5 separate regions of the Homo sapiens genome follow, and all the other regions are linked to region 1. The links are contacts of gene promoters, found by promoter capture Hi-C in blood cells and fetal thymus (Javierre and others, 2016). All regions are on one chromosome and are shown on one strand. Each heading gives the region's core, a stretch centred on a gene start or on the middle of the fragment in contact. The rest is flanking DNA. Distances are from core to core; before and after follow the strand shown. Region 1 holds the start of KCNMB1 (potassium calcium-activated channel subfamily M regulatory beta subunit 1). Region 2 holds the start of LINC01187 (long intergenic non-protein coding RNA 1187). Region 3 has its middle 41 kb from the start of LINC01187. Region 4 has its middle 5.0 kb from the start of C5orf58. Region 5 overlaps KCNIP1 (potassium voltage-gated channel interacting protein 1).

What was found. The method cuts DNA at HindIII sites, captures the fragments that hold promoters and counts their contacts. A CHiCAGO score of 5 or more calls a contact.
Region 2: a fragment that was not itself captured here is called in contact with the fragment with the promoter of KCNMB1 in region 1 in 7 of 17 cell types (activated CD4 T cells, non-activated CD4 T cells, total CD4 T cells and 4 more); the score reaches 9.2 in activated CD4 T cells.
Region 3: a contact is called between a fragment that was not itself captured here and the fragment with the promoter of KCNMB1 in region 1, in 1 of 17 cell types (non-activated CD4 T cells). The highest score is 6.1, in non-activated CD4 T cells.
Region 4: a fragment that was not itself captured here is called in contact with the fragment with the promoter of KCNMB1 in region 1 in 14 of 17 cell types (activated CD4 T cells, naive CD8 T cells, M1 macrophages and 11 more); the score reaches 10.3 in activated CD4 T cells.
Region 5: a fragment that was not itself captured here is called in contact with the fragment with the promoter of KCNMB1 in region 1 in 1 of 17 cell types (M2 macrophages); the score reaches 6.3 in M2 macrophages.

What each region holds. Positions count from the first base shown.
Region 1 is chr5:170,385,024-170,390,621 of GRCh38, reverse strand. KCNMB1 (potassium calcium-activated channel subfamily M regulatory beta subunit 1) reads left to right here and starts at 1,255. Exons shown (of 4, transcript NM_004137.4): 1 at 1,255-1,363; 2 at 5,151-5,308. The coding sequence starts at 5,175. It overlaps KCNIP1-OT1 (KCNIP1 overlapping transcript 1), which reads right to left and starts at 1,129. Exons shown (of 3, transcript NR_109899.1): 1 at 1,019-1,129. It also overlaps a transcript of KCNIP1 not described here. RefSeq lists enhancers at 1-214, 2,139-2,639, 2,640-3,140. The HindIII fragment of the contact is 12,470 bases long and covers 1-5,598 here.
Region 2 is chr5:170,196,100-170,201,371 of GRCh38, reverse strand. LINC01187 (long intergenic non-protein coding RNA 1187) reads left to right here and starts at 2,231. Exons shown (of 5, transcript NR_108022.1): 1 at 2,231-2,630; 2 at 3,543-3,620; 3 at 4,741-4,888. The HindIII fragment of the contact is 2,739 bases long and covers 2,230-4,968 here.
Region 3 is chr5:170,154,842-170,160,970 of GRCh38, reverse strand. No RefSeq gene overlaps it. Among named protein-coding and RNA genes, the nearest start is that of LINC01187, 41 kb to the left of the region's middle. RefSeq lists an enhancer at 5,914-6,129. The HindIII fragment of the contact is 4,941 bases long and covers 1-4,302 here.
Region 4 is chr5:170,225,030-170,230,890 of GRCh38, reverse strand. No RefSeq gene overlaps it. Among named protein-coding and RNA genes, the nearest start is that of C5orf58, 5.0 kb to the left of the region's middle. The HindIII fragment of the contact is 2,901 bases long and covers 1,123-4,023 here.
Region 5 is chr5:170,618,331-170,624,449 of GRCh38, reverse strand. All of the region lies in intron 1 of KCNIP1 (potassium voltage-gated channel interacting protein 1), which reads right to left. LOC124901132 (a long non-coding RNA gene) reads right to left here and starts at 5,858. Exons shown (of 2, transcript XR_007059045.1): 1 at 4,984-5,858; 2 at 4,346-4,583. RefSeq lists an enhancer at 591-885. The HindIII fragment of the contact is 6,388 bases long and covers 1-5,117 here.

The DNA.
Region 1 (5,598 bases), core at 6-2,505:
GGAGATAAGCTGCCTTCTACCACCACGCCTGATACTTAGGAAAGCCCCAATATCTGGGATTGTTTTTGTTGTTTTGTTGAAAATATATATATATATATATATATTTGTTTTTTTTTTTTGAGACGGGGTCTCGCTCTGTTCAGGCTAGAGTGCAGTGGCACAATCTTGACTCACTGCAACCTCCGCCTCCCAGGTTCAAGCGATTCTCCTGCCTCAGCCTCCCAAGTAGCTGGGACCACAGGCATGCACCACTATGCCCGACTAATTTTTGTATTTTTAGTAGAGATGGGGTTTCGCCATGTTGCCCAGGATGGTCTCAAACTCCTGGGCTTGAGCAATCCATCTACCTTGGCATCCCAAAGTGCTGGGATTATGGGCGTGGGCCACTGTGCCTGCCCTTTGTTGCTGATTTTTAATCCTTACTTCCACTTTACAGATGAAGAAGCAGAGATCTAAAAGCATGTTTTTTGCCTGCAAATGCTGACATTCACTTGTCTTATTGCTAGGAAGAAATCTCTGTACTTTCGCGGTCTCTGGGAGGGCCCCTGGTGAGCAGACTGTCCCTGGACCTGGTTGGAAGCAGTTGTGGAGCTCTCACTACTCCCAGCTTCAGCTCAGTTGGTCCTTAAAAAGTCAGTTCTCTCCCCTTGCCATAAATCCCCACCGTCTCTAACTCCCATCACTACCCTAAAGCAAAGTAGGTTTTAAAAATGCCAGTAACACAAGTGAGAAAACTGAGGTCATTTAACGATAAGTTTGGGAGTAAAACCAAAAACAAAAAAGGAAACTGAGGCCCAGAGAGGTGCCATAACTTGCTCAGGGTCACACAGCACGTAAGTGCCAAAGGCAGGGAGCTGTAGCTGCTCCAGCGTGGATATGCCAGGGACTAGTGACAAGCCCAACCCCTCCAGCCCAACTCCACCCTTCCTCATGCCAACAAAAGGAGAATCATTTCCTATTTCTGGCATCTTTGCCAGCCCACAGAGACAGAGAGAAGAAGAAATATTTCCAAATATACCAGGCTGATCTTTCGTAGTTTCTCAGTCTTGCTGTCTGTTGTTGTTTGAAATCTGTTTCCCACGAGACTCTGGGAAGATGGAGGTGCAGGGCTTGGGTAACAGCTGCCTTCCTCAGGGCTGGGTACCTGCTCTCCGAGTCTGTGTCTCCAGGCTGTGTGCTCAGACTTGACCATGTTTGGGCATGGAGGCTTGCCCCAGATGGGGACCAAAAGCTGCTTCCCTGGAGACGGGCGGGGAGGCCAAACTTCCTGCTGAAGCTCTGTGGCCTCTTTTGGGGTGGGGGCGGGGGTCCAGGCAGAAAGAAACTGTCTGCTGCTCAAGACCCACAGGACGCCGGGAAGACTGTGAGTACCGGGCCTGAAAGCACTTGGGAAGTGATTTCTCTGAAGACCGGGCTGGAGGGAGACAGGGGAAAGCAGCCTGCCACGGGGCAGGGAGGGAGGCAGGCAGGAGGACTCCCTTCCTCTCGGGGCTGTCCTTCTGGATGGAGGGCCCGTGGTCTGGTGGCCAGTGGGGAGGGTGGCACAGTGGCCAGGTTACTCTGGTAGTAAGCGCCCTGGCCCTCTAGGTCCCAGTTCTCAGAGTGGCCAGAAGGCTGCAGCCTGGAGATTAACACCAATGCTGGCACTTGTCACCGGTAGAGAGGTGGGACAAAAATAGATTCATCAAGAGGGGTCCAGACTTCTGCTCCAAACTTTCAGGGTTTCCTTCGTTAGTAGTAATAGCTAATATTTACTGGGGGCTGATTTGGGGCTAGGTGCTATGATACATGTCTGATACTCAATATGGCATTTGATCTTTAGCTGAACTCTCTGAGGCAGGTACCATGGTTCTCGTTTCACAGTCATGTGGTTGCTAAGTGTAAGTGGCAGAGCCAGGATTTGATTCCATGTCTGAGGACCTCAGAATCGCCCTGTCCACACCCCACCAAACTGTTCAACAATGTACTCTATTCCTTGTCCTTCTAAGGAAAAGGATGTCGACCCAGCTATCAGGTCACCCAGGACACTCCAAAGTCCTGCCTTCCTTTGTCCTTCTCCATCTTCTCTGAATCTATCCCAGATCTCAAGTGACCTTTCTAAATGGGAAGATATATCCTGGAACTTCAGAGATATTTAGAAATGCTCAAAACTGGGAAGTTCTTCTTACAGTCTAACTGAAATCCCTCCTATGATAGCTGAAACCCACTTCTTCCTTTTCTTTCTGTCCCTTGGGGGATATTGACAGTTCCCATCCTTCCTCCCGCCAAAGGTTCTCCCTTTGGATGCTGAATACTAACTTCTTGCTGAAGTCATATCTACACTGAACCCCACGCATGGTCTTAGGAGGATTTATCATGACTCTATAAACTCACTCAGTGCAGGCAACAATCTCATCAGACCATTAGAGACGGGTCAGACCTGAATAAGCCAAGTTTCCAGACTTCTCTGTGACAGGGAAGCCTCTCCTTTCCTTTCCTTCTGAGCTCCTAAAACTGGTAAAACCAGGTTCCTGCCTTCACCAGCCTCAGGAGTGCCCAGGGGCCTGAGAGGGCACTAGAAGCCAAATAGCAGAGGAGGCCATGGCCCTGGGCGCTGGGGGGGGCTGATTAGCCAGGAAGGAGCCACAGGAAGCCCCCACAGGTGCGATCCAGTTCCCCCAGGAGAGAAATGGCTTTGTTGTGGGCACTCAGCCCTAGGCTTCCAAGATGGGATTTCCCATTGGCTTCAAATGATTTATGTCTCACAGTATCTGGGGTGGGGCCAAGTGCCAGTGACCCTTGCAGGTCCTGGGGAAGCAGGCTGTTGGGGCTTTTAGCTTACCTCCAGGTGATTCTGTTGCTTTACCTGTGAATACATGGAGAGTCTTGTTCAACTGACGCCAGGTAGAAAAAGGCATGGGCTCTCCCATTCCCACAAGATCACAGAACAGGAGGAAAAGGATTGAATAAAAAGAGTTGAATAAAACATCTCTCTTTGTCGGGGGCAATTTCTGCTTGCTTGTGCTTTTATAATGTCTCCATTAGAATGCAGGAGAAACTCACCTCCTGGTGCCAAATAAAGGAGAAAAAGTTGTCATTGGATGTCACCTCTGCCGATCGATAGGGGAGGTGGACCAGCTCACTGGGAAGGTGTGATGGGTATCCGTGGTGCCTGACCCTGGTCTCTTCCCTTTAGCGGAGATGCCCGGGTATGAGGGCAGCCTGGCTAAGGGGAGGGAGTCAAGAATCTCTGAATATTTGAAACAGTCTAGTAGTTAAGAGACGCCTGAGCAGAAAATAGAGCACTTTGCAGAAAATCTCTTTGGACTAAGGCCTGTCACCCGGACACTGGCTAATTAAACAAACAAAAACCATAATATGTTTATTACTTTAGGGACCTGGCAAGGAGAATAAAGTCCCCCTGATATCTGGCTAAAATTTCCCCTAAATTCCCCTAAAATTTCCCCTAAAATGGAGGATTACATTGATAGCTTCCTGGTATTTTTGGTAGAAATGGACTCTGGTTACTTTAAACAAATAAAAACAACAGCAAATAAATTTACCAGAGGCTCTAGGACAGCTTGCGGAACCATGGGAAATCACGCGGGGACCATGGCTGGGCATCTCTGTGGCTCCAGGCGGCATAGATTGAGGGGCTGTTTCTTGAAGTCTTTGTCAAGACTCACACTCCTGGGGGAGCGATCAGGAGCCTAGCAGGGGAGGGTGGAATCTTTGCTTGCATTGGGGTGGAGTCAATGTCCAGGGGAAAAACAAGGAGTTGCTGCCTAAAGAAAGAGGAGAGAAGGAAAGCAACCACCAGCAGAATGTGCCCATTCTGCTTTGTCCCAGGTGGCTTCAAGCCCTGAAATAAGAAAGCAGTCGCTGAGGCCACCATGATGCCTTCTTTCTTCTTTCTTTGCTTGAAGTAGGGGAATGTTCCTTACAAAAAAAAAAAACACCGGAATATGGTAAACCTCCTGCCTCTCCTGACAACCTGCAGCTGCCTTCTGGGGCCCTCCTCTCCTTTCCCTGCCTGTGCCCGGCCCAGCTAGCCCTGCCACAGAACTGTTTCTGGGCAGAAATACTCCAAGTATCCCTGTGAGATAAGTGCCGTGGAAGGAGGTGCATGGATGATGCACATGTACTGCTCGCTCACCGCATGGGACCTATGACTGTTGTAGCAAATGATCATAAACCTGACGGCCTCAAACGACAGAAATTTCACCAGAAGTCCAAAATCACCAAGGTGTCTGCAGGCTGCACTCCCTGCAGTGGCCGTGGGGGATGAGCCATTGTTCCTTGCCCCCGCCAGCTTCTGACGCACTCCTTGGCCTGTGGTCACATCACTCTAATTGCTGTCTCCCTGGTCATATCACCTTAGCTTTCTCATCTGTTTAATCTCCCTTCACTTCCCTCTTATTAGGACCCTTGGGATTACATTTAGGAGCTACATGGATAATCCAATATTGTCTCCCCATTTCAAGAGCCTTTATCTTTTTTTGTTTTTTGTTTTTTTTTTTGACGGAGTCTTGCTTTGTTGCCCAGGCTGGAGTGCAGTGGCGCATCTCTGCTCACTGCAAGCTCCGCCTCCTGGGTTCATGCCATTCTCCTGCCTCAGCCTCCCCTGTAGCTGGGACTACTGGCTCCCACGACCACACCCGGCTAATTTTTTGTATTTTTTTTTTTTAGTAGAGATGGGGTTTCACCATGTTAGCCAGGATGGTCTTGATCTCCTGACCTCATGATCCGCCCACCTCGGTCTCCGAAAGTGCTGGGATTTCAGGCATGAGCCACCGCACCTGGCCTTCAAGAGCCTTTATCTTAATCATTTCTGCAAAGTCATTGCCACATAAAGTAACATTGATAGCTTCCAGAGACTAGAACATAGACATCTTGGGGGGCCATTACTGAGCCTATTACATACTGTGTGACCTAGGGCAAGTCACTTTACCTCTCTGAGCCGTAGGTCTTTTATCTGCAATTGCCTCTCAATTGCACAGGGAAGGCTTACATGGGGTCCAAAAAGCAAGACTTCTGGAAGTTGCAAAGCTCCAAATATAAACAAGAGTGATATTAATAGTTGAGTACCTTCCCCTCTCACCTGTCCTCTCTTTCTGTGGATCACCTGTGAACTGGGCTGATCTCACTTCTGTTTGCTTCTGTGGACCTAGAAATGATCACTGCCCCCAGTGAATATGGTGAAGAAGCTGGTGATGGCCCAGAAGCGGGGAGAGACACGAGCCCTTTGCCTGGGTGTAACCATGGTGGTGTGTGCCGTCATCACCTACTACATCCTGGTCACGACTGTGCTGCCCCTCTACCAGAAAAGGTACTGAGCTCTCCCGGCCTGCCCACCCCCCAACCCTCTCCTAAGGGTCTGGCATCTGTAAGGAACCCTGGCCTTCTACTCACCCCTCTCCTTGACCCTCATTCAAGGCAGCAGGGTCAAGACGATGCTCATTCTTAGGTTCTAGGGTTCAAGTGCAGGGAAGGTAGGATGAACTGAGCCCCACTGGTCTGAGATTCTAGGACCTGGTGGTAACAGACACATGATCTAGGACGTGGTGGTAACAGACACATGATGCCCTTCTCAGAAGAAATAGCAAAGAATCAGAGCAA
Region 2 (5,272 bases), core at 2,350-4,849, 190 kb after region 1:
TGTTTTTACCAAGTGTATTTTGGAATAATCTTTTCTCTGTTGGTCAAACAAACGGCCCTTGTAGGTGTGGTGGGTGTGGTGGAGGTTTGGGGAGTGGGGTGCTGGTGTGCCCAGAGTGGCCATGATTCATTGTTGATTGAAATTAGACTGTGGGCATCCATGTGACCTTTGTGTCATCATGGAAACTCTGATGAGAGTGACTGCCCAAAACAGAGCTCTCCAGGGCTCAGCACCCTCCCTCCTGGAATGTGTCCCAAGGTCTTTCCAGGGCAAGTCGGGCCTCAGCTCAGTGTCACCTCTCCAAGGAAGGCTTCTCTGGGCTCTGCATTTGATGTTGACTTCCTTGTTTTAATGTCTGCTTAGCACTCTCTGGTCTGGCCTATCTGTTTATCTGATTCTTTTGTGTTTCCTCCATTATCTGTAAGCCCCAGATGTCAGGGAAGTTGCCTGTGTTACTCTCCACTGAATGCCCAGCCTAGGTCATGGTGGTCATCAATTTCATTGGTCACCAATATCTGTTGCTTCAATAAATGAGTCCTCTTCACCCTGTTTGCTCTGTGATAATGAAGCCCAGTGAAGGTCTTGAGCCCCATCATGACTTGAAGGGTGGATTGTGAGAGCTCAAGAGTATGTCTGTGGAGGATGCATTAGGACTGAGTTGGGGGGTCATGACATTTGATCCCTGAAAGCAAGAAAACAGCTTCCACTCTCGGATATGGTTTCCTCTTTTCTTTGATTGCAACTGGTTGTCATGATCCCTCCAGTCCATCTTGGGTGCAGAAACCCTGGGGATTGCCAAAGGCTCCTTTCTGAACCATCTTTTCAAACATGCGGGACATTCCCTGTCCAAGTGAGCTGCAAGGACAAAATAGAAATTTGTGGATGCAAAATGAGATTACTGATGTGGTTGCTGAAACTTATAAAACTCCCTCAGTGATAGGGGTTGTGGTGGCCTGTAAAGGGGATAATGATGACACCTTCAAGCTCTCCTTTTATACCACACAGCCGGTGGAGTCAGGACTTAGGTTCGAATCCAGTCAAGCTATATACATCTGTGTGACTTGGGCAGACACTTTTCCTCTTTTAAGTATCAGTTTCCTCACCTGTAAAATAGGAGTGATAAAACCTACCAAACCTGTGAGATGTCCCCATGACAGAGCACCCAGCACAGGCCACGTAAGGGCTTTCCTGATGTAAGCTTAAGCAGGACAGGCTCGGGCTCAGGACTGAGGCCTCTGGAGCCACCCTCCTACAGGCTGGGTGGCCATGGATAATGTGCTTCACCTCTCTGAAGTCTCGGTTTTCTCACCTGTAAATTGGCCGTAATAACACCTAGGGTATATTTCCTAGGGCTATTGGGAGAACCAGTTAGAATATATTTTTCACATAAAATGTCATTCAGGTAATTATGGCTGTTTAAAGCCTTATAAACTTAGATCTTGCCCTTGTAGACAGAAATGAAACAATTGCTGTGACTGGGTCTGATATCATAGCCAAACCCCTACACAAAACAACAGACTTATCATTCAAACAAATCAGTGAAAATAATTGGTCTTGTAAGTTGTCAATACCCTGTGCAACAAAAGCATTGGTGGAATGACCTTGAGCATTAAGGGGGAGTTGTAGGGATATCTTCTAGAGAAAAGATGGAGTTGTCACCTCCCATGTGCTCTGCTACATCTTCTCTTTAACTTTTCCCTTTGCCCAAAGCAACATGGACCATCTGTTTAATCAACCTCCACCACAACTCCATTCCCCAGTAAGCCAAGTCAGCAACTACTCAAATGCCTCATTCTAAGATGTGCTGATGGAGTGTGGCCTGCCTCAGAGGGTCTCTCCCTTCAAATAGGTCTATATTGTCTGGTTTGTTTGTGAACAGAGCCAGGTAGGTGCCGTGTGGCTCAGAGAGGTGGCTGGAAGTGACCTTCCATGACTCAATTCCACAGGTTTGTTTGCAAGAACACAGACACACGAGTGGCCACTGACAATATGTGTTCCAACATTATATACGGGGTATATTTTGCTCAGAAACATGCCCTGTTAGTTGTTGAAACCTTTTTTGCATTCCCTGAAACAAACGACACTATGGTGTATTTTCTTTTGGGGGGCAGTAAATAAAAGTCTTTTATGTTGACAATGATAATATTATATTCTACAATCTATTTGCATTTCTCTATCCTGTGGATTTTATTGCTTAGTATAAATCCCCAGGCTGAGGTGCATTAAGCTTCACTCAGAGAGAAACAATGCATTTTATCATAGGGCCGGACAGCTATATGCACAAGATGCTACCTGCAGAGATTGGTTTTTGCCCAGATGTGCAGGAGAGATGCACAGAGAGGAAGAAATGCATACATGTGTGCAGGTTTTGGCGTGTGCACAAGAAGCCTGGAAGGATTTTCTTTGGATCTACAGTCAAAATGGATTTCCGAGAGGAAGCTGTCTGAAAACACACCTCTTCCCTGTGCTACATACGGTCCCATCTCTGCCAGCCAGGTTGTCAGGAAAGTGATCAGCACTGGCTTCAACTCTGGCTAGAGCTCTTTGGCCAATGTGATGGGCAGAAAACTGGAATGAGGACAGAAAAGCACCTCAGAGGTTTGAAGAGTCTAGTCTCTCACCACCTTGCTGTAGGTTTTCTGAATACTTCTGAGTTTAGGAGCATTTTTTCTCAACAGGCAAGTCAGGAGCTGCTAAGATAAACCATGGCAGTAAGCTCGAGCCAGTGTTCGTATTTGCCATTGATCGGCCACCAAGTGCTTGCTATGTGCCATGCATTGTGCTAAGCACTATCTCATTTAATATTTACAGCAATCTTATGAGGTAGATGCTACTGTTATCTCCATTTTACAGATGGGGAAACTGAGGCACAGAGTTCCACAGCTGGTAACTTGAGGAATAGGAATTCAACCACTGGAGAGTCTGGCTGGAGTTTTTTGTGGTAGGAGAAAATATGCTGTCTAAATTTGCCTTGGGAAACCATCATGGTGGTCACAAAACCACTTCTACGGCTTGCCTTGACCTAGCAGGAATGAAGATGTAAAGAAAGAATGAGCGCGTCATGGTTATGATGGGATGATGATGTCTGTTGTGTTGTTTGGTGTCAGTTTCTGTAACGCCTTTCTATTTCAATCAAGGCTATTATCTTTTCCTCTGTTTTAGTGAAGTTTCCTTGAAGTAGAAAATGGGAGTGTATTGGGCATCTCAGAGTTTTCAGCTGAACTGAAGGGTCTGATGGTAACTTTACCCCCAAATCTCTGAGAGAAAAGCAGGGAGTCCCTGCTTCAGCTCTGCTCAGAAGAGCCTCCCTCACATGGTGGTTTCTGTGTCACTAGACTGGTTAACCAAATGGTTCTTCTAAATACCCAACTTTTAATAGAAACTCCTGCGGCTTGGATTATTAAAGTCCTAACATGCTTATTTAATCGTGTTTCAAGTCCATCTATCTTTTTTGAGTCTAAGGAAGACTCACTAGGTCAGAAGGAGTAGAGGGAAGAGGATTAATACATGATTTTCTTTTTCCCCTTTTTCTTTTAACTTAGGCTGAGACTTATTTGAATGCCTGTTTCATATGGAGCTTTTAAGTGTAACAGTTGTGAGTGAAATTGCCCCTTTTCAAGGTAATTGAATTCCATTTTTCACTTTCCATTTCCCTCTAGAAAAATCAAAACGTTTTCAGAGCTTGGCTTCTTAGTGGGTGATTTTCTAAGGTGGGAACTTTAGAACCATAAAACATTCTAGTGTGGCAAAGGCATTCAGGAACCGGATGACCAGGCCCCTTCTCCGCAGGTGAACAGCCTCCACCAGCCGGTCTTGGAGAACATATTGATTTCACTGTGTTTTTATTTGAAACACCAAAGGAATGCCCATATCTTGTCCTTGGGCCAGGGCTGTGGGTTAGGGGAGCTGGGTTTCTGTCCAGAATCTTGTCATCTGTAGGGCAGCTGAGGGGCATTATTACCCAGAGGTCCCTGGAAACCTGTGCTAAATTGGTTTGGATCAGTGTCCGTGAAAATGTTGGACAAAGGAGAGTCGATTTTAGCTGACACCTGGACACGACTTTAAATAACACTGTATCACGGAGCAACACAATGTCCTCCCAACTCTTTTTCGGTCTTTCCGATTATGTTAGGGACAAAGTCTCAGTTTGGTGCTGTTGTGGTCGAACTATCTTCTCATCTCTGTTTTTTAAAGTCAGGCAGATCAAGCCTTACTCCTAGGGCTTTAGAAGGTAATAGTTTCTGATTTGGATTTAATCACATTGTTTTATTTCCTTTTTAACATTTTTATGACAACTTTTGCTTTATAGCAGTTTTAAAGGTAGGAAAAAATTTTCGTTTGAAAACAAGTTGGTTTGAGATGTTTTTCACTCTTACATAAAAGACCCACCTTCACAGCGTATGAGCTTCTAAAGTTGGGGAAGCAGTGGCTTAGGTGGGCAGGCAGGAAATTCAAGCAGGTTGGTTTCTGCCAAAGTCAGAGATGATTGCCACTTACTGGAAGGCTGTGTTGGAACAGAGTGGGCACAGGCATTGGGAGCAGAGCTGATTTCCAATCTTCCTGCTGCCCTCGCTGCCTGTGTGTGCCGTGGCCTTCTTGAGCTTTAGTTTTCTCACCTGTGGAACAGGTTTCATGAGCAGTTGGAAGGAAGCAAATGAGCTTCATTTTCTACAACAGGGTGGGTGGTGTAGTTGATATTCACCCCAAAGGTGCAGGATCCCCACTTCTGTTTATTGCCAGCGCTCCGAGTTTGCTTCTGCATGGAAGGGGAAGATGGACTAGAGCTGATACCTCCTGCACCCTGGTGAAGAAATGCACCCTGAGGCCAGAAAATAGTACAAACCCATCTGGCTGCAACAGTCCAGCAGCATGAAGATCAAAGTCACGTGTGAGTTTTGTGCACGGGCAGCCTTTCCTCTTCTCAGGCTGCAAATCTTTGGCAATCGGAGGCAGGCTCTGAATTAAGCTTAATTAAAATTCACTCTTAATTAGGGCCATTACTTAAAATCAATTCTACATAATAAAGCTGTGTAATCATAATTAAGCCCCAGAAATGGGATTAGGAAGCACAGAATGCAAAAGCCAAACATGGGTGAGCCTGGTGCTGGCAGGGGCAGTGGCAGAGACTTCTCGAGTTAACAGAATTTTTAAATAGCCAAGGCCCCGTGAGTGCTCTGATGAGAACCTGGGTGGCAGGCAGCACAGTGAGCTAATCAGAAAAAGGATTTGAGATGAATGGGCCCCGAGAGGCAAAGCTCCATGGTGTGGTGTT
Region 3 (6,129 bases), core at 583-3,082, 230 kb after region 1:
GAGGTCCTAGAACAACGTTTTGAAAACAACTGCTGTACAGTACAGAATATGAAGTAATAGGGAGTGTTGAGCAAACCTTTATTTTGCCCAAAGACCTTTTCTAATCTGGAACTCAATTAAGCCTCTGGAATCTAAGCTCTATGAGAGCAGGAAGTCTTCACTCTCAGAATTTATCGGTGCTTGCATGTGAAATGTCAAAAAAATTTATTGACTTAGAAAGAGGATTTAAATTCAATATAAACCAATAAATAATATGGTGCTTCTGATTTTTTAAAGGCTATGTATCAGCTAAATGGATGTAACAATGCTTAATGAAAACAGTACCTCTGAGCCTCAGTTTTTTTCATCTGCAAAATGGACTTGATTTAATCCACTGCTTATCACAATTTTCCACTGAAGAACTTTAAGGAGCAAAGGGAAATGAATGAATATTTCTTGGGGGAGCCAGGAGTAATCTGTATCCAACCTATTTTCTTTTTTTGTTGGAGTACATGTGATAATCTAATACATTCATATAATTTGTAAAGGACAAATCAGTGTACTTGGGATATCCATCAGCTTGAATATTTGTCTTTTTAAAATGCCAGAAACATCCCCAACCTATTTTTTGAAATCGCTTGTATTTTAATTTCTACAATTTGGGGGACCTTGTAATTCTAATCCATAAAATATCAGTGTTTAATAGAAAGCAATGTTTTTAAATAGCAACAGCAAGTTTAAAAAGATCGATGCTATATTTACCCAGATGCAAGGTTGGGTCTCAAAGGTTATGGTATGTGAATTTAAGTAATAGTCCTGAGTTCTGGTGTTGGTTCTGCCACTTCCTCTTTGTATGACCTTGGGCAAGTTATGTTCTTTTGAGTCTCAGTGTCCTCACTTCAAAAAATGAGAATAATGCTGATCGCAATTACAATAGTAAAACTGTAAGGCAGGGCACGGTGGCTCACACCTGTAATCCCAGCACTTTAAAAGGCCAAGGGGTGGGGGGGCAGATCACCTGAGGTCAGGAGTTCAAGACCAGCCTGGCCAACATGGCGAAACCCCATCTTTACTAAAAATACAAAAACTAGCCAGGCGTGGTGACACATGCCTGTAGTCCCAGCTACTTCGGAGGCTGAGGCAGGAGAATCGCTTCAACCCAGGTGGCAGAGGTTGCAATGAGCTGAGATCACACCACGGCTCTCCAGTCTGGACGACAGAGCAAGACTGTGTCTCAACAACAACAACAACAACAGCAACAGCAACAACAAAAATAGTGCTTTCAACATGGTGAAACCCCGTCTCTACTGAAAACACAAAAATTAGCTGGGCATGGTGGCATGTGCCTGTAGTCCCAGCTACTCCGGAAGCTAAGGCAGGAGAGTCACTTGAACCCAGGAGGCAGAGGTTACATGAGCCAAGATCACACTACTGCACTCTGGCCTGGCGACAGAGAGAGACTCTGTCTCAAAATAAATAAATAAATAAATAAATAAATAAATAAATAAATAAATAATAATAATAATGCTTCCAACTCCACAGGTGGAATTCCTGAGAGAAAAAGATAGCAATGTACCTCTAAGTGTGTACAGAAGTTCTAAGTGCCATGAAGTCATCTCATCCCTGGCTCCCTACCAAAACCCTTGGATTCTCAGAGCAGGAAGCACCCAGAGATTTCGCACAGTGTTGCTGGTAGCCTAGGATTCCTTAGAGATGGGTCAGAGTCCTGGTGAGCTGTGTTAGAGAAGAAAATTATTCTGACACATTAACGTGGTGAGGAAGACTTAAATACAGCAAAGACAGAGGGATTTGTAGCCAATGAGCAGAGTGAGGGGTCATTGAATGGAAAATTACTAAGTGGAGACATCAGGGATAGGGGATTCTTGCTAAACCAACTTAACAGAATTTCTGCTGAAGGCAGGCCAAAGACTTAAACATCAAAGATGGGGAATGAGGAATTTGAACAGATAGTGAAGGTGTCCAAATAGCAAGCATGTGGAGATTCTAGGAAAACTGACTTAGCAGGATTTTTGCTACAGTTGGACCAGGAAGGCCAAAGACAAGACCTAAGGATGAGGCCTGGTTTAAAAGAGGGCACAGAGGAGCCTGTCCGAAGTTTGGTCAAGGACAGAGTTTTAATCAGCTGGGCTTGGACACCTCTTCTCGCCACCTCCCATTCATATGCACCTGATCAGCTCTGTTTGAATCTGTTTTAATTTGAATTCATGGTTCTTCAGGGAAAAACACATTAAGTACATAGAGAGATATTCTATGTTCATTGAAAGAGCATCCCAATATTGTCGAAATACCAGTTATTTCCAATTTGATCTATGGATTCAATGCAATCCCAAACAAAATTTCAGCAAGTTGGCCAGGCACGGTGGCTCATGCCTGTAATCCCAGCACTTTTGGAGGCCGAAGCAGGTGGATCATCTGAAGTCAAGAGTTCGAGACCAGCCTCGCCAATATGGTGAAACCCCATCTCTACTAAAAAAAATACAAAAATACCTGGGTGTGCTGGTGGGCATCTGTAATCTCAGCTACTCGGGAGGCTGAGGCAGGAGAATCGCTTGAACCCAGGAGGCAGAGGTTGCAGTGAGCCGGGATTGTGCCATTGCACTACAGCCTGGGTGACAAGAGCAAAATTCTGTCTTAAAAAAAAGATCAGCAAGTTATTTTGCAGGTATCAGCAAACTGACTTTAAAGTTGATATGGAGGAGCAAAAGGCCCAGAATAGCCAACACAATATTAAAGGAGAAGAGCAAATTCAGAGAACTAACGCTATCCAACTTCAAGACTTACTGGAAAAGGATCATAACATTGTGGTATTGGTGAAAGCACAGACAAATAGATCAACAGAACTGAAATGGGGATCACAGAAATAAACTCACACAAATATAGTCAACTGGTCTTTGACAAAAGGATCACAGGTACTACAAGGGAGAAAAGATAGCCTTGTCAACAAATGGTGCTAGAAAAGTGGATATTCACATGTAAAATAATAATAATAATAATCTAGATGCAAACCTTATACTCTTCACAAAAATTAACTCAACCTTGATCATAAACCTAAATGTAAAATGCAAAACAATAAAACTCTTAGGAAATAACATAGAAGAAAATCTAGATGACATTGGGTTTGGTGATAACTTTTTAGATATAACACCAAGGGCTCATGGTAGGGACTACATGGCTATCTATAGGGAGCAACTGTTATTCAGGGGCTCAAAATGCAGGCCTAGTCTTTCCAGATCTTCTAGATATGTCTAGATCCTTTTCAAGCAGAAGCAGGAAATCTCTTTTGTTATATGAAACCCCTTGATTTTTGAATCATGACAATTCATTAAATATATTTAAAAGACCATATGGGTCAAAGGCAGTGTGGGGGCCGCCATAACGCCTGAATGTGCCTTCTTCTGAAAAGTAGGAAGGATTTATGAATTATGCTGTAGAGATAAATGAAAGCTCTTGAAGATTATGACAGTCCCAGTAAGTGAGGAGTCTTTGGTCCAAAGCAAACTCTGGCTTTTCCTTCTCTAAAACTAATGTTCAAAAACATTTAAACAAATTTAGTAACTGGGTATGCCCAAGGGGATAGATTTCAATATTCAGGCTCCATCAGACTACAAACTAGGCTTTGATCTAGATAGAAATAGGAAGAGCTTGAGAAACTCAAGTGAAAGTTAAAAGGCCTTTAATTTAGGGTTGAATTAAAGCTGAACAGCAAAGGATCCAATGCTGAGGATTTTCCACTCAAACCAAAGCAAATGGCTGAGAAATGGCAAACAAAAGCAAGTCAGTCTCTGGAAGTATTGAGGAAAGTCCATAGAAATAAACCCATCAAAGAAACTTGAACATGAAGAAGAAAAGTTGGGTTGGTGTAGCCCCTAATTTAGCCAAGCAACTCCAGCAAAGCTCTAACCTGCTTCATCCTGGCTTTTAGGGGAGGAAGGTTCAAATCCCAGCTCCTCCATCTAGTAGCTGTTGTGATCTATGGCAGTGTCTGAATCTCACTGACCTCTGGTCTCTAGCAGACAAAACGGGAAAGATAACACCTACTGCAAGGGCTATGATGAGAAAGAAGTGAGATAAACACTGAAACTCTCCATTGCTGCATGCTTACTGTATGTTAGGCACACGATGTCTCACTTAAGCTCATTACATCAAGTCATCGCCATTATCGTTGCCATCAGGATGTGTAGAAGCCCGCACATACAAGAGAAACTAAGTTAATGATAAGTGTGATGGTGTCATTTATGGCATCACTATCATTTCTATTACAGGTGATGTGCACACCTCACAGTCCTGGGGTAGGTGGAAGCTTCTCTGAATCACATTATCAACCATCTCGGGAAGCCTGCCGTGAACAATTCCATGACACAAGAATCATCCTCTAAAACATATATAGGCTTTCTTGTCCTTATTCTCTAACCCTTGAATATATTAAGCAGTTTGAAATGAAAATGGATTGTCCTTGTTTTGTAAGCAGATTTGAATATTTTTCTTCCATATCTATTACCTCTCACACAGTGCTTGCCCAAGTACTGGGCATGTTAATATCTCATAAATAAATTTTGTATAAAATAAGTTTACTGTGTTTTCCCATTCGAAAAGCAATTTAGGCTAGTTATAATGAGCTTGGAACCTATAGGCAGGCAGGAAGTGGAAATAAGCTCTGAAGGGCGGTGGGCAGTGCTAAGTTGTTCAAGGGTCTTTGGAAATCAAAATGCAAATCCCAACCTGCAAACTATATGACTGGAGGGGTGGCTGCTTTCTTCACAAAACCCCAGCAAGCTGGAACACGTGACTTATTTGGTTTTCAGCTACATCTTGCTCTGCTCAGCATGACCTGGGCCTAGCAGAGCAACTGGCAGAAAGGAGATATTTGGTCTGAGCTAACCTCCCCAGCCCAGGCTGAGTCCAGAAATGCTGGGAGCAGGGGAGCTTCTGGTTGCCATAAGAATCTGAATGTGACACTGGCAATTCATGAGTAAGAGGTCACTATGTGAGGGACAGTCCTACACACCCAAATGCCAAGAATGCTGCCCATGGAGAAATACCACGGTTAGTGAAAGTGGCAGTAAAAGGAAACCAGTTGCCCGGGTGCAGCGGCTCACACCTGTAATCTCAGCACTTTGGGAGGCTGAGGTGGGTAGAACCCAAGGTCAAGAGATCATGACCATTCTGGCCAACATGGTGAAACACCATCTCTACTAAAAATACAAAAATTAGCCAGGTGCGGTGGTGCATGCCTGTTAATCCCAGCTACTCAGGAGGCTGAGGCAGGAGAATTGCTTGAACCAGGGAGGCAGAAGTTGCAGTGAGCCGAGATCTCACCACTGCACTCTGACCTAGTAACGGAGTGAGATTCCATCTCAAAAAAAAAAAAAAAAGAAAGAAAGAAACCAGTTAGAAAGCAATGTGCTTGACAGTAAAACAGAGTTCCATGTGTATGAATGCACGGAGTGAGTCTGGAAGATCTTACAGCCCCAAAAGTTAATGGTGGTAACCCTCTGGGCAATGGAATTAGGGGAGCTTCAGAGTGATTTTTTTTCACTTGGCAAATCTCTATTGTAATTATTTTTCCTGCAAAGATGTTTTGTGATGCATATGATGTGATAAACAAGAAAATAAAGATTGTATTTACTTTCAGATTTTTTTTTCCCTAAAGATAGGTATTATTTGTAAAGACAGTTGAACTATTGAAGGAAGAAATGACTGAATGGAGTGCTTAATGATTAATGGAGTAATGGATCCACTGAGGGGAACCCTTTTTAGGGGCAGCAGCACCCTCATCCTTCTCCTCATGCTTGAACTCCCTGGGATCTGGAGGGACATAAAGAGTCCTTTATCTTTCTCCAGGTCCCACCAAGTCTCCGAGTTTCTGCAGGTGGCTTGTTAGTCACAGAAGTGCAGGTGAAATGGAGAAAGCTGCTTATCAGCCTGGGCCAGTGCAGATGCTATCACTGAGGTCCAGAGCCACACAAGAGCCTCAGTCTGACCTGTGTTTCTCTCCTGTTCCCCCTAAGATCCCCCCACGGCCATCTGATAAGACACATTTAGCTGTCTAGTTTGCATGGTCCTGACAATTTTCATTCAAAACATATGCAAATACTGAGGGCAGGTTGCTGAGGACAGAGGTTGTGGTGA
Region 4 (5,861 bases), core at 1,324-3,823, 160 kb after region 1:
TAAGACTGAGAATCCTGAAAATCAAGTGATGATGGGCACTGGGGTTGGTAGGCTGGAGTGTCCTATTGTCCCAAGCACACTGAACTCATTTTTGGGTTCCTCAATTGTTTGCAGGAGCTATCATAGCTCTACTACCTGTGAATTGCAATCCACAGGATTTTTGGCAGAATCTAAAGGCCTTGGATCCATCCAAAATGCTGACTGCTTCTTATGAATATATCAAAACTACTGCTATTTGGAATAGATCATCATTAAGCCATTAGTTATTCACAAAGAAAAATCAACTTTGTGTTCCTTTTAAATAAGTGTTCTAAGAGGAATAAAAGAGATTAAAAACTCAGAAAAAGATAGGTTTAGTAATGCATTTCTCTCTATAAAACTGTCTTGGAGCAGTGATGACTACTTATTGCACTGTTTTCTCTACTTAAATAACTATAGATTTTGTCTCTTTGTGTTTTTTTTTCCCTAATAAAATGAAAGTTTAAAAGCATGGTTTGCTACTCAGGGTTAGAGACTTACAGCTAAGGCCCTAAAACAAAATCTATCTTCTTTAATAAGTGTGAAAATACAACACTTTACTGGAACCCAACACAGATTGCAGTTGTTGATTCTAATGTTAATCAAACAAAAGGGATTTAAAAACTGGTAAATGCTCCCATAAATAGAAAAAGGTGCTGCAGACCAGCAAGGTGATCAAGCGTTTTATGGAGTTGAGTGTGTGCACCTCGGCTAATTTTATTACAGATTCTTGACATAAAGTCTTCATTTCCAGGAAAACAAATTGAGTAAATTATCTTACTTCTTCCACTAGATCTCAGGGTTCCCATTTTCCTCCTGTCTGTTCATTATCAATTAAGAGTGCTGGCCTCTGTGTCTAGGGACCAGCTCCCTGCTGGAGCATCAACTCCCTCCTGAACCTGACTTTGTACAACCCTGTGTGCACTAATTTGGGAGGCAGCAACATAAGCATGTGTTGGATCATTACCTGGGGAGCATGACCAGCATTTGAAAGATTAAGCAGATTCCTGTGTACCCGAACAACTATTGCGTTCACCAAAGCCAATCACTTAAAGGAAGCAAGAAGCAAGCTGACTTCTGCTACCCTGGTGTGAACTAAAAGCTTCAGTGTCTGCCCACTGTCTTCTTCGAGTAGCTGATGTTACATTATCCAGAGTCATTTTTTTTTCTTTAGGAGAAACACTTCTGAAATATAGAAGGATGTTATTAATGAACATCCATATTGCTCCTACGTTAACTGAAGCATTTTCACTTCTAATTAAGAAATTACAGTTCTGTATCAATATTTCCCTCTGAACAGGGTCATGAGATGTAATATAGGACACCCAGTTAAATTTGAGTTCCAGAGAAACAACAGATTTTTTTTTTAGTATAAGTATGTCCTGAATGTTATATGGCCCCCACTTATACTCAAAATGTATTCGTTGTTGATCTGAGATTCAAATTTAATGGGAAATCCTGTATTTTTATTTGATAATCTGGCAACTCTCTACCCAAAACACTTCAACCCTGAAGAAAGAAAAGCAAACAGTGTGAAACCTTGTAGATTCAGTAGATACGAAAGCCAAGAGAATGTTGAAGTTTTCCACCGTGATGTCCAAAATAATAAAACAGATAAACTTACTGTGCCAGAATCTGGCTCTCCTCCTCCGTCAGCATCCCTGGAATGCAAGAGAGAAGCTAGGTTTTTGAGACAGCAGATGGAAGGAAGCTGACAATATTCAACATGGCACTGTGTTTTGACAGTTGCTTGCTATGCCTTTTTGTCTGAAAACTCTTTGTGCTTGGCTTTTTAGAAGATGCCTTCATCCGGCAAGGCATATTCATGACACAATTTGTGTTAATTTCCAGAGATCCACCAATCAGAGAATACCTGTCTGTTCCAAAATAAAATATGTTTCTAATTCTCTCATGTCAGGCATCCATTCCCCCACAATACCTCCTCTGATTATTAAAGACATAGATCCTGGTGGATGTCATTTCCCTCTGGGCATTGCCCCACACCCCCACACTGTGCCCTCATCAGCATCCAGGCAATGAAGAATGAGCGTCTTTATCAAAAGACGTATTGTGTTCATGAAGTCAATTCCTATAGAATATAAGGGTGTACTCACGTTTTGTTATGAAAAAAAAGAATGCATATGTGCATAAGAGCAAATTTGGAAGCGTATCTACGAAAATGTTTACAAGGATTATTAACATTAATGATAATGAGATTTATTTCTTCGTGATTATTTATTTAGCCTAGTCATAATTTTAACCCCTGTCAGGTGATTTCTCAGCATGATACATCAATCACTTTAAAGCACAGCGTCTCAGACTCTGCAGTGCACAACTTAGGGAGCTTGTGAAAATGCAGATTCTGGGGCCCACCTCAAAGACTCAGCTTTAGTGAATCTAAGGTGAGGCTCCCTGAATCTGCATTTGTAATCCCCTGCCCTCCCGACTCCTTCTATTTTAACCTAGGAAGTCTTTGGATCATGTTTGAGAAACACTGGCTGGCAGCTTACGAGGATACGAAGACTCAATGTCTATATTCTCTAAAGTGAGAAGAAGGAGATGGGCATCCCAGCTTCAAGTTCTTTCTAATTTAGGTCTTTGTTTCTTCTATTTCCTAGTAATTTGTTTTATTTTTATATTTATTTATTTATTTATTTGAGACAGAGTCTTGCTCTGTTGCCCAGGCTGGCGTGCAGTGGTGCAATCTCGGCTCACTGCAACCTCAGCCTCCTGTGTTCAAGCAATTCTGCCTCAGCCTCCTGAGTAGCTGGCATTACAGGCATGCTCCACCACGCCCACCTAAGTTTTGTATTTTTAGTAGAGACAGGGTTTCACCATGTTGGCCAGGCTGGTCTCAAACTCCTGACCTCAGGTGATTCTCCTGCCTCAGCCTCCCAAAGTGCTAGGATTACAGGCGTGAGCCACCACACCTGGCTGTATTTTATTTTTTGATCTCTAGTTTCACTTGCAACCATAATGGAAAGTCTAATGCTAACATCTGAGATGTTAGATGATTTGTAAAATATTTATGTTTTTATATGTAAATTTCCATACTCAAAAACCCCCTGTACTCCTGCCTCTACTCCCACTGCCCTGGTCCTGCCCTGTGTTACAATAATGTCCTTCCTGTCTGCTCCCACCACCTACCATCTTTGTCCCTAAGAGCCACTGTATATGCTCCAGCCTCTAGTGGGATGAGCTTTTTAAAATGTAAATGGAATTGTGTCTTTCCCCTGCTTTAAAGCCTCCCAGGGGTTTCCCTTAATGGAATAAACACTACACTCCTGACCCTGGTCCGTAAGGCCCCACAGCTCCAGTCTCCCTTCCCCTCACTCTCCTCTCAGGCCTGGCACAGGCCAGCGGTTGTTTGGAACCTGTTTCCTTCTGAGCTTGCCATGTTGGCTCCTTGTTTTGCTTTAGGGTTCAGAGAGGCCTTACTCTGATATCGCCCCATCCTCTCTCCCAGCCCCTTCTGTGTTTCCATGCAGTACTTGATATAATTTGTTATGCTTTATTTATGTTTCTGTTTACTTTTTGTTTTGGTTTTGACCTGTCTCTTTCACTGTAATATAGTTCCTGTCAAGGGCAGGAACCAAGGGTCTAGTTCACTGTTATCAACGCTGTGTCTAACACAATTCCTGGCACATGGTAAATGCTCCATACAACCTTGTTCAGTAGCTGAATGAATGCAGTGGTCCCTGCTATAGTGGTATCCTGGACAGTTGGAGACACCCAGATGCAAATTACCCCCAGATGCCCTGATGGACTCAACAAAGCTCTGAGGGCAGAAGTCACACCTGCATGCCTTCTAGGTCCTCTGAGAGAAGGACAGACAGCCCCCATGGTGGCCAGGGAGAATGTGGGGGAGTGACAGCAGTCTAAACTAAAGGCATTCTCCTTTCATTCCATCTGCTTTCTGATTCTGTGGCACAGACCAGAGATCCAATAGAGCAGTGGCAAGCCGATTCAGTACTGTTCCAGAAGGCCATTGCAGGCCTGGAAGCTTCCACACAGCCTCATGTGGGAGGGATTACCCAACCCCGGTTTCTGATAAAAGAACTATCTCAGCTGTGGATCATCATTTGAATAAAAATCAAATGACTTAGGATCTGTCCAAAATGAAGAATGTTTTAATACTTTGTGTGTAAAAACACTGATATTTTGCTTCTTTTTTATTAAACAGATTTTATTATTTTTCAGAATCTTGTCAGCATAATCATTTTATGGGTGGATGAAATATTCAGCCCTGCTGCTGCAGGAGTTCTTTCACAGCAATTACCTTGTGGCACTTTTGCTGTAATTAGGTTTTCGCCTAGGATTTTTCCCTGGGTCTGGGTAATAAATGAAATATGACCAGAATTTAAATTTGTCAATTACAAGCAAGTGTAGTGCGTAAACACACAACAGAGCCATGAATTCCAAACCACAGGCTGTTGCTGGGGGCCAGATGCTCGGAAAATTAAAATGGAAATAAAACTACTGACTGGAAAACGAAAAGTGGCCCCCAAAGAAAGCAAATCTCCCCTAACACTCATGCGTGATTCTACCCAACTGTGCGAGCTCTTGACTACAAATTCTTAAGCGTGAAACTGGCAACTCAAGAAACAAGCAGGGATTTGCATTAAAACCGTCTACGCAGGGCTCTGATCTCCTGCCTTATGAACTCCTGTTTCTTGAGGCCAGATCAAACAGTTTTTGGACATAGTGGGCCAGGGTTCCATGATGGTGATGTTCTCTCCAAGCTGCTCAAGGACTGCCAGAGATTTGGGCACAGGATCGGCTATCTTTCAGCAGCTGCTGTTTTCGCTGACCTGACTTCAGTAATTGCTCCTATGGGGCCCTCTGCTGGCCATCTTTTGCAGAAAGGGAAATCTTAGGGATCTGCACTGTTGGAGACTTTGACAAATAATGTTTCATTAAAACAACCACCAAACAAAAACACACTTTTTTTTAACTTTCATATATAAGAAGCCCTAGACAAGGGAAAAGGAAGTCACAATTTTATAAACTTCCCAAGTGCCATGCATTTAATATTCATACAACAAACCTTTCTTGAGCATCTGTTGTGTATCAGACACCATGCTAAGTTTGAGGCATGTAGGGGTGAGCCATGGAGCTCATGGTCTGGTGAAGGAGACAGACTGGAATCCACACATCACACAAATGCATATTAAGTGAGGATTCAATTAGAAGCTATCAAGGAAGGAAGGATGTCCCAGTGGGGACGGTGACACGGCTGGGGCAGCTTTCAGGGAGGGCTTCCCTGGAAAGGGAACATTTGGGCTGAGATGAGAAGGAGAAACGAGCATGATAGGCAGAGGGAACAGCATATTTCAGGCCCTCATGTCAGGAGGCATCCTGGCAGATGGGAGAGCTTGAAAGAATGTCAGCAAGGCGGGGATGCAGGGAGTGAGGGGGAACCCAGGGTGAGATGAGGCTGGAGAGGGAGCAGGGGCCAACCATGCTATGCAGAGGGTTACATTCTCTCTCCTGATGCCTGTAGGAAGCCACTGAAGGGTGTTAAGCAGGTGACGAATGGGAGGTAGTGGGTGGTATGCTCATAATTGGAGTTTAAAAAGGTGATCCTGGCTTCACAATGGAGAACAGATTGGACAGGAGGAAAGAATAGATATGAGAAGTCCAGTTGGGAGTGTATTGCAGTCATCCATGGGGAAGATGATGGGGCCTTGTTTAACATGTTGGCAGAAGAGATGGAAATGACATTACAGAAATGTTTAGAAGTAGAATCAGCACAGACTCCGTGATAGGTGACACCTGGTGATGGAAGAATGGGATGCTAAGCATGGCCTATATGATCTCATTTAATTGTGAGAGCCTTGGAA
Region 5 (6,119 bases), core at 674-3,173, 230 kb before region 1:
AGTTTGGAGAAAGGAAGGTGTTTGTTGTTTGTACCCCTTCGTCAGTCAATCAATTGGTTACCTTCTGCTTCACTTAGTTGTTAATTCATTTCCTTCCTCCTCACCTCCACTTGACTCTAAGCTCAGCAAGATCAGAGACTGTTCCTTTTTTCAAGGTCTCTGCTGTATCCCCTGCACCTAGAATGGCTACTGGAGAATGGCACATAGTAGATGCTCAATAAATATGGTTTGGATTAGTGAAAGAACAACAAAATAGGTGCTCAAATGTGTTGATTTATGGGTATGACCTATTTGATTATGCTGTTCGAATCTTTTATTTTGTACTCGAGGAATGAGTTTGCCCTGGTTAAAGTAGCCCAGAAAACCTGGGCCCGGGAGCTGAGAGGACCAGGGGATGGATTGCCCAGGTCAGGGCATCAGGCCAGGGCCACTATTTCCCAGACACGGGGCCACTGGAGGCAGGGAGCATAGAGCCTCAGGGAGTCGGTTCCTTGGGGCTGGCTGGGCGTGGAGTGAAGGCTGGGCCTGGCCTCAGTTCTGGGACACAGGTGTGGCTGAGCTCCTGCTGAGAATAGATTTGGAAGGGCTGGAGGCTCAGGGCCCCCAATGTAAGACCTCCCAGTGTCCAAATGAGAACCTTTTCCTGAGTACTTGGGCCCCGCACTTGACATCATGTGCGTTAGTCTTCAGGCCACCAGAAGGGGGCAGCGCCGTCACGCCATTTTGCAGAGCCTTGATAAGCCCATTTGGAGTTCAGCCCCTCCCGCCATCCTCACTATCCCTTTTCGTCCCAGACTTCTTTACCTGAAACTTCATGAAGCACTTTTCGCATCGGTTTCGTCTGAGGGGAGAGGTTGGGGAAAGGAGGGTGTATTTGCCTCTTAGGGTCACCATAACAAAGTATCACAGGCTGGGGTGGTTTAAGACAGGGGTCCCCGGGCAGGTCGTGGTGGCTCACGCCTGTAATCCCAGCACTTTGGGAGGCTGAGGTGGGCGGATCACTTGAGGTCGGGAGTTCAAGACCAGCCTGACCAACATGGAGAAACCCCATCTCTACTAAAAATACAAAAATTAGCCAGGTATGGTGGCGGGTGCCTGTAATCCCAGCTACTTGGGAGGCTGAGGGAGGAGAATGGCTTGAACCCAGGAGGCGGAGGTTGAAGAGTCGAGATCGTGCCATTGCACTCCAGCCTGGGCAACAAGAGCGAAACTCCATCTCAAAAAAAAGAAAAAAAAAAAGACAGGGGTCGCCAATCCCCTGGGCCACGGATGGGTCTGTGGCCTGTTAGGACCCCGGCTGCACAGCAGGTGAGCTGGCGAGCAAGCATTACCGCCTGAGCTCCGCTCCTGTCAGATCAGCCGCCGCATTAGGTTCTCATAGGAGCATGAACCCTATTGCGAACTGCGCATGCGAAGGATCTAGGTTGCTCACTCCTTATGAGAATCTAACTAATGCTAATGCCTGATGATCAGAGGCGGAACAGTTTCATCCTGAAACCATCTCCCACCCCACACACCCTGTCCGTGGAAAAATTGTCTTCCACTGAACCAAAACCGGTTTCTGGTGCCAAAAGGGTTGGGGACCACTGGTTTAAAGCAACAGCTACTTATCCCTTCCCAGCTCTGGAGGCTGGGAGTCTGAAGTCAGGGTGTCAGCAGGGCTGTGCTCCCTCCAAAGGCTCTAGGAAAACCCTTCCTAGGCTTCCCTGGCTTCTGGTGGCCCCAGACACTCCTTAGCCTCGCGCTGCATCCCACTAACCTCTGCCTGTCTTTGCACACAGCCTTCTTCACTGCCTCTCTGTATCCACTCTTTTTTTTTTTTTTTTTGAGACAGAGTCTCACGCTTGTCACCTAGGCTGGAGTGCAGTGGCGCGATCTCGGCTCACTGCAACCTCTGCCTCCTGGGTTCAAGCAATTCTCTTGCCTCAGCCTCCCGAGTAGCTGGGATTATGGGTGCTCACCACCACACCCAGCTAATTTTTGTATTTTTAGTAGAGACGGGGTTTCACCATGTTGGCCAGGCTGGTCTTGAACTCCTAACCTCAAGTGATCTGCCTGCCTCAGCCTCCCAAAGTGCTGGGATTACAGGCGTGAGCTACTGGCCCCGGCCTGTATCCCTTCTTTTTATAAGGACATCAGTCACTGGATTTCGGATAGACCCCAAATCCAAGATGATTTCATCTTGAGACCCATAACTGAATTAAACTTGCAAAGATGCTATTTCTGAAAAAGGTCACATTTGAAGGTTCTGAGTGAATATGAATTTGGGAAGGACGCGGCTCCACCCACCACAGACGGAATCTTGATTGAGAACACATTTTGCTCCAGGGACCGTGCAAAGCACCTTCATCCTTGACAAACTGGAAGGGAAGCAGTATTATTTCCAGTTTTGTTGTTTTCTAGACAAGGAAAGTGAGGCTCAAAGGGATTCAATGACTTGCTGCAAGTCACACGGCTGCTTGCAAGGGGAACTGGGACTGGAACTCAGGACAGCAGACTCCACACGTCTCTATACTGGCTTATGAGCAGCTTGAGGACAGAGGTTTTGGTCTTCGTCGTTCCATCTCTCTTCTCCTCTCATTTCTGGGCCTAGTGCTCTGCATACTGATGGCTTTGAAAACTGATAAAAAGAAGGGAATAAGGCCAGGTGCAGTGGCTCACAGTTGTAATCCCAGCACTTTGGGAGTCCAAGGCGGGAGGATCACTCAAGCCTAGGAATTTGAAACCAGCCTGGGCAACACAGTGAGACCCTGTCTCTACAAAAAATTGAAAAATTAGCTAGGCGTGGTGGCATGTGCCTGTGGCTCTAGCTACTTGGGAGGCTGAAGTGGGAGTCACTTGAGCCCAGGAGTTTAAGGCTGCAGTGAGCTATGATGGTGCCAGTGCACTCCAGCCTGGGTGACAGAGCAATAAATCAATACATAAATAAAAATAAAAATAATAAAGAGGAGTATGACTGACCTGCAGAGATTCAAGTGCTGACCCTCATGGCTGCTGGGGTGCTCACAGATCTCCCCCACACCACACTCTGTGGGGACAAGTGAGAATGCCCTCTCTTACTACCTTGCTGCATCTGCTCCACTGAGGAACGTTGCAGCCCCTATAATCTTAGATCTACACTAGCCCTGGAAAGCAGGAAGGGCAGCCATAATGATGATAAAAATCTCAACCACAGCTGCCATTGATCAAATGCCTACTGGCCTACAGGGTCTAGGCCAGACTGTTTCTATGCCTAATGTCTTGGAATCTCCAGGGCAGCCCAGCTAGGTGACCCTTAGTATCCCCATTTTGCAGATGGGAAAATCGAGGCTCAGAGAAAAGAGTGTGACTTTGGGAGCTTGGAAGAAGTTGAGCTAGGATTCTGGCCTGAGTCTCCCTGAGTCTGGAGTTGGTGTTCTTTCTGGGGCCTATCTTGCTTTTTCTCCAGCTTCCCTGCCACAGCTTCCCAGTGTGACCAGTGATGGACACCTCTAACACATAGCAGACTCCCTCAGTAAAGGGAGGAGATGGAAGGATCCTGGAAGCAGAGCATACAGGCTGTCAGTCAAGAGGATACCTGCATCCTTGGGGAGGGCCCTCATGCCTCTTTGAGCTTTAAATGATTTAAGAGGGGGCAGAAGTCATTTCCTGGAGATCCAATTAAGGCAAATGAATTTGCATCTCCTAAATCGGCTCACAAAAATCTTGACATGCTCCCAGTGGATTTGGGGGTGAGTTTAGGAGGGTTGAATACCCAAAGAAGATTTTTTAAATTAGTCAAGATGCTTTTTGTTTTATTTCTCCAAAAATTCAACCTGATACGGCTTTAAAAATAGAGAGAATCCATTACATGGAACTAAGAAGTCCATAGATCAGGCAGGCATCAGGCACAGTTTGAGCAGGACTTTGGCATCATTTTCTGTGATGCGTAGCCCCTCCCCAGGCAAGTTTTGTTATCATGGCTAGTTCCCTCATGGTAGCACAATGGCTGTAGCAGCCCCAGCCCTTACTTTTGCAATAAACTCCTTCCAGAGAGAAAGAAAGCATCTCTTTCTCCATCCAACAAACCAGATTTCTGAGCTTAAATCTTATCGAACTAATTTAGGTCAAGTGCCTTTCCTGTACTAATGATGAAGGCCTAGAGAACCAATGGAATTAAGCTGCTGGGTTCAAGCCCATCAGAGCCTATTCCTGGAGCTGGGAGTGGGATGATTCCATCTCAACTGCTACAGGACAGGGAAAGGTTGGTGCATGTGTTGGAAGACACATCAACATCCACTACAAGGCTCTCTAGGGACAAGGGAAGTGGAACTGATATTCTTTGAGCACCTGCTATGAACTAAACCCAATGCATTTTGACAACATATTGCATGGTAAATAATTTTACTTCCATTTTTGAGATGAGTCAACGGAGACTGAGAAGTTTGTAGCTCATAACACTCTTGAAGTTAGTAAGTGGTGGACTATGGGTCCAAACCTTGCTCTTGGCATCTTCTGAAGGGTTTCTGGCTCTGTTGCCTCTCTCTCCTTCTTCAGACCCCTCAACCCTCCTTGAAGTTGGAGAGCTGTGATTGGGGGATGCTGACATAGTGATCTGAGGATTTCTAAAGGTGGACAGAATCCAGTGTTAACAGTGCCAGGAATTTGCAGAATATGCTAATTTTCCCTGGCACCATGACTCAATATTCTCCTCATCAGATTGTTTGGCAAAGGTACCAAGAAGGCAAGAAGTTTATTAAGGTCCCATAACAACTAATTATGGGCCAAGAACAGCAAGAGCCAGGAGGCCTGAGTTCTAACTATCTCTTATCTCTGTTGCTTTAAAATGTTCCTTGTATCCTGGGCTAAAGTGTTTCTGTTTTTGGCACTGATGGATGCTGTGGGCACCTTCATCCAGGCTTCTTTGATGGGTCTCATTTTGGTCAAGACACCTTCACCCCAGGTCTGATTTTGAGCTCCTTGGGGCCTTCCAGAAACTCATTCCAATCTAGCAGACCTCCTTACCTGCCTCCTACCTGAAGGCTCCTGGCAAACCTTTGTGTCCTTCGGGGTCTTACATCTCATACCTCCCTTAGGAGGGGCAGGACTCATTTTCCCTGGGGGACAGAAGGGGAAACTGAGGCTCAGAGAGTTAAGCTTCTTGCCCAAGGTCATGATACCTGATGACCAGAGACAGGCTGTGAACTTGGGTCCATCAGACACCAGTGTCCAAGTGTGCCTCTTCTGTGTGGGGCACTGGGAAGAGATTTGAAGGGAAGATGGCATGCCATCTGTGTTCTGAAGGATGAGGGAAAAGTTAAACTATTAAGTGATTCTTTCATTGATACAGGGCTTTTCAGATTAGTGTGTCATTGCCCATGGAAGCATCCATTCATTCAGTTATCCATCCGTCTCTTCAACAGCTGTTTATGGAACACTTACCATGTGCTAGGCACTGAGGATACACTGTTGAAGAAACACACACAGTTTCCCTGCAGGGACCTTCCTTCCAAAGCTCTGAGAGCTTGGGAGGGTCCCCAGATCTAGACAGTGTCCCCCATGACTGCAGCTCTCCATATAGAGCTCAGTAGGAATGTGCTGTCTTCTCTATACCTTCTATTAGAAGGAAAGAAGAGAAGGAAAGAATGAAGTAAGAAAGAGGACAGAAACCCTGTCTTTATAAAGGGCTATGCTCTCATTATATAATGTCTCAACAGTAGTGAGAGACACACCAGATGTCAAATCATCATTCCCATTTGACAGACTAGGAAACTGAGGCTTGGCCAAATGATGTGATTGGTCTAAAAAATCACACATATTAAGTGAGTGACATTACTAGGATTCACTTTGGTCCCCAGACTCCTCAGTTACATTGCCCTTCATGCCAATCAGATGGCAAAGGGGAAAATGTCAGTTAGCTCCCTCCCTCCCTCCCTCCCTCCCTCCTCCCTCCTTTCCTCCCTCCCTCCCTCCCTTCCTTCCTCCTTTCCTCCCTCCCTCCCTTCCTTCCTTCCTTCTTTCCTTTCTTTTCTTCTTTCCTTTCTCCCTCCCTCTCCCCCTCCCTCCTTCCCTCCCTTTCTTCCTTCCCTCCTTATAAGAGATATAGAGAAGATGATGCATTCTTGCTAGGCTCTATGTGGAGAGTTGCAGAGTCATGGGGG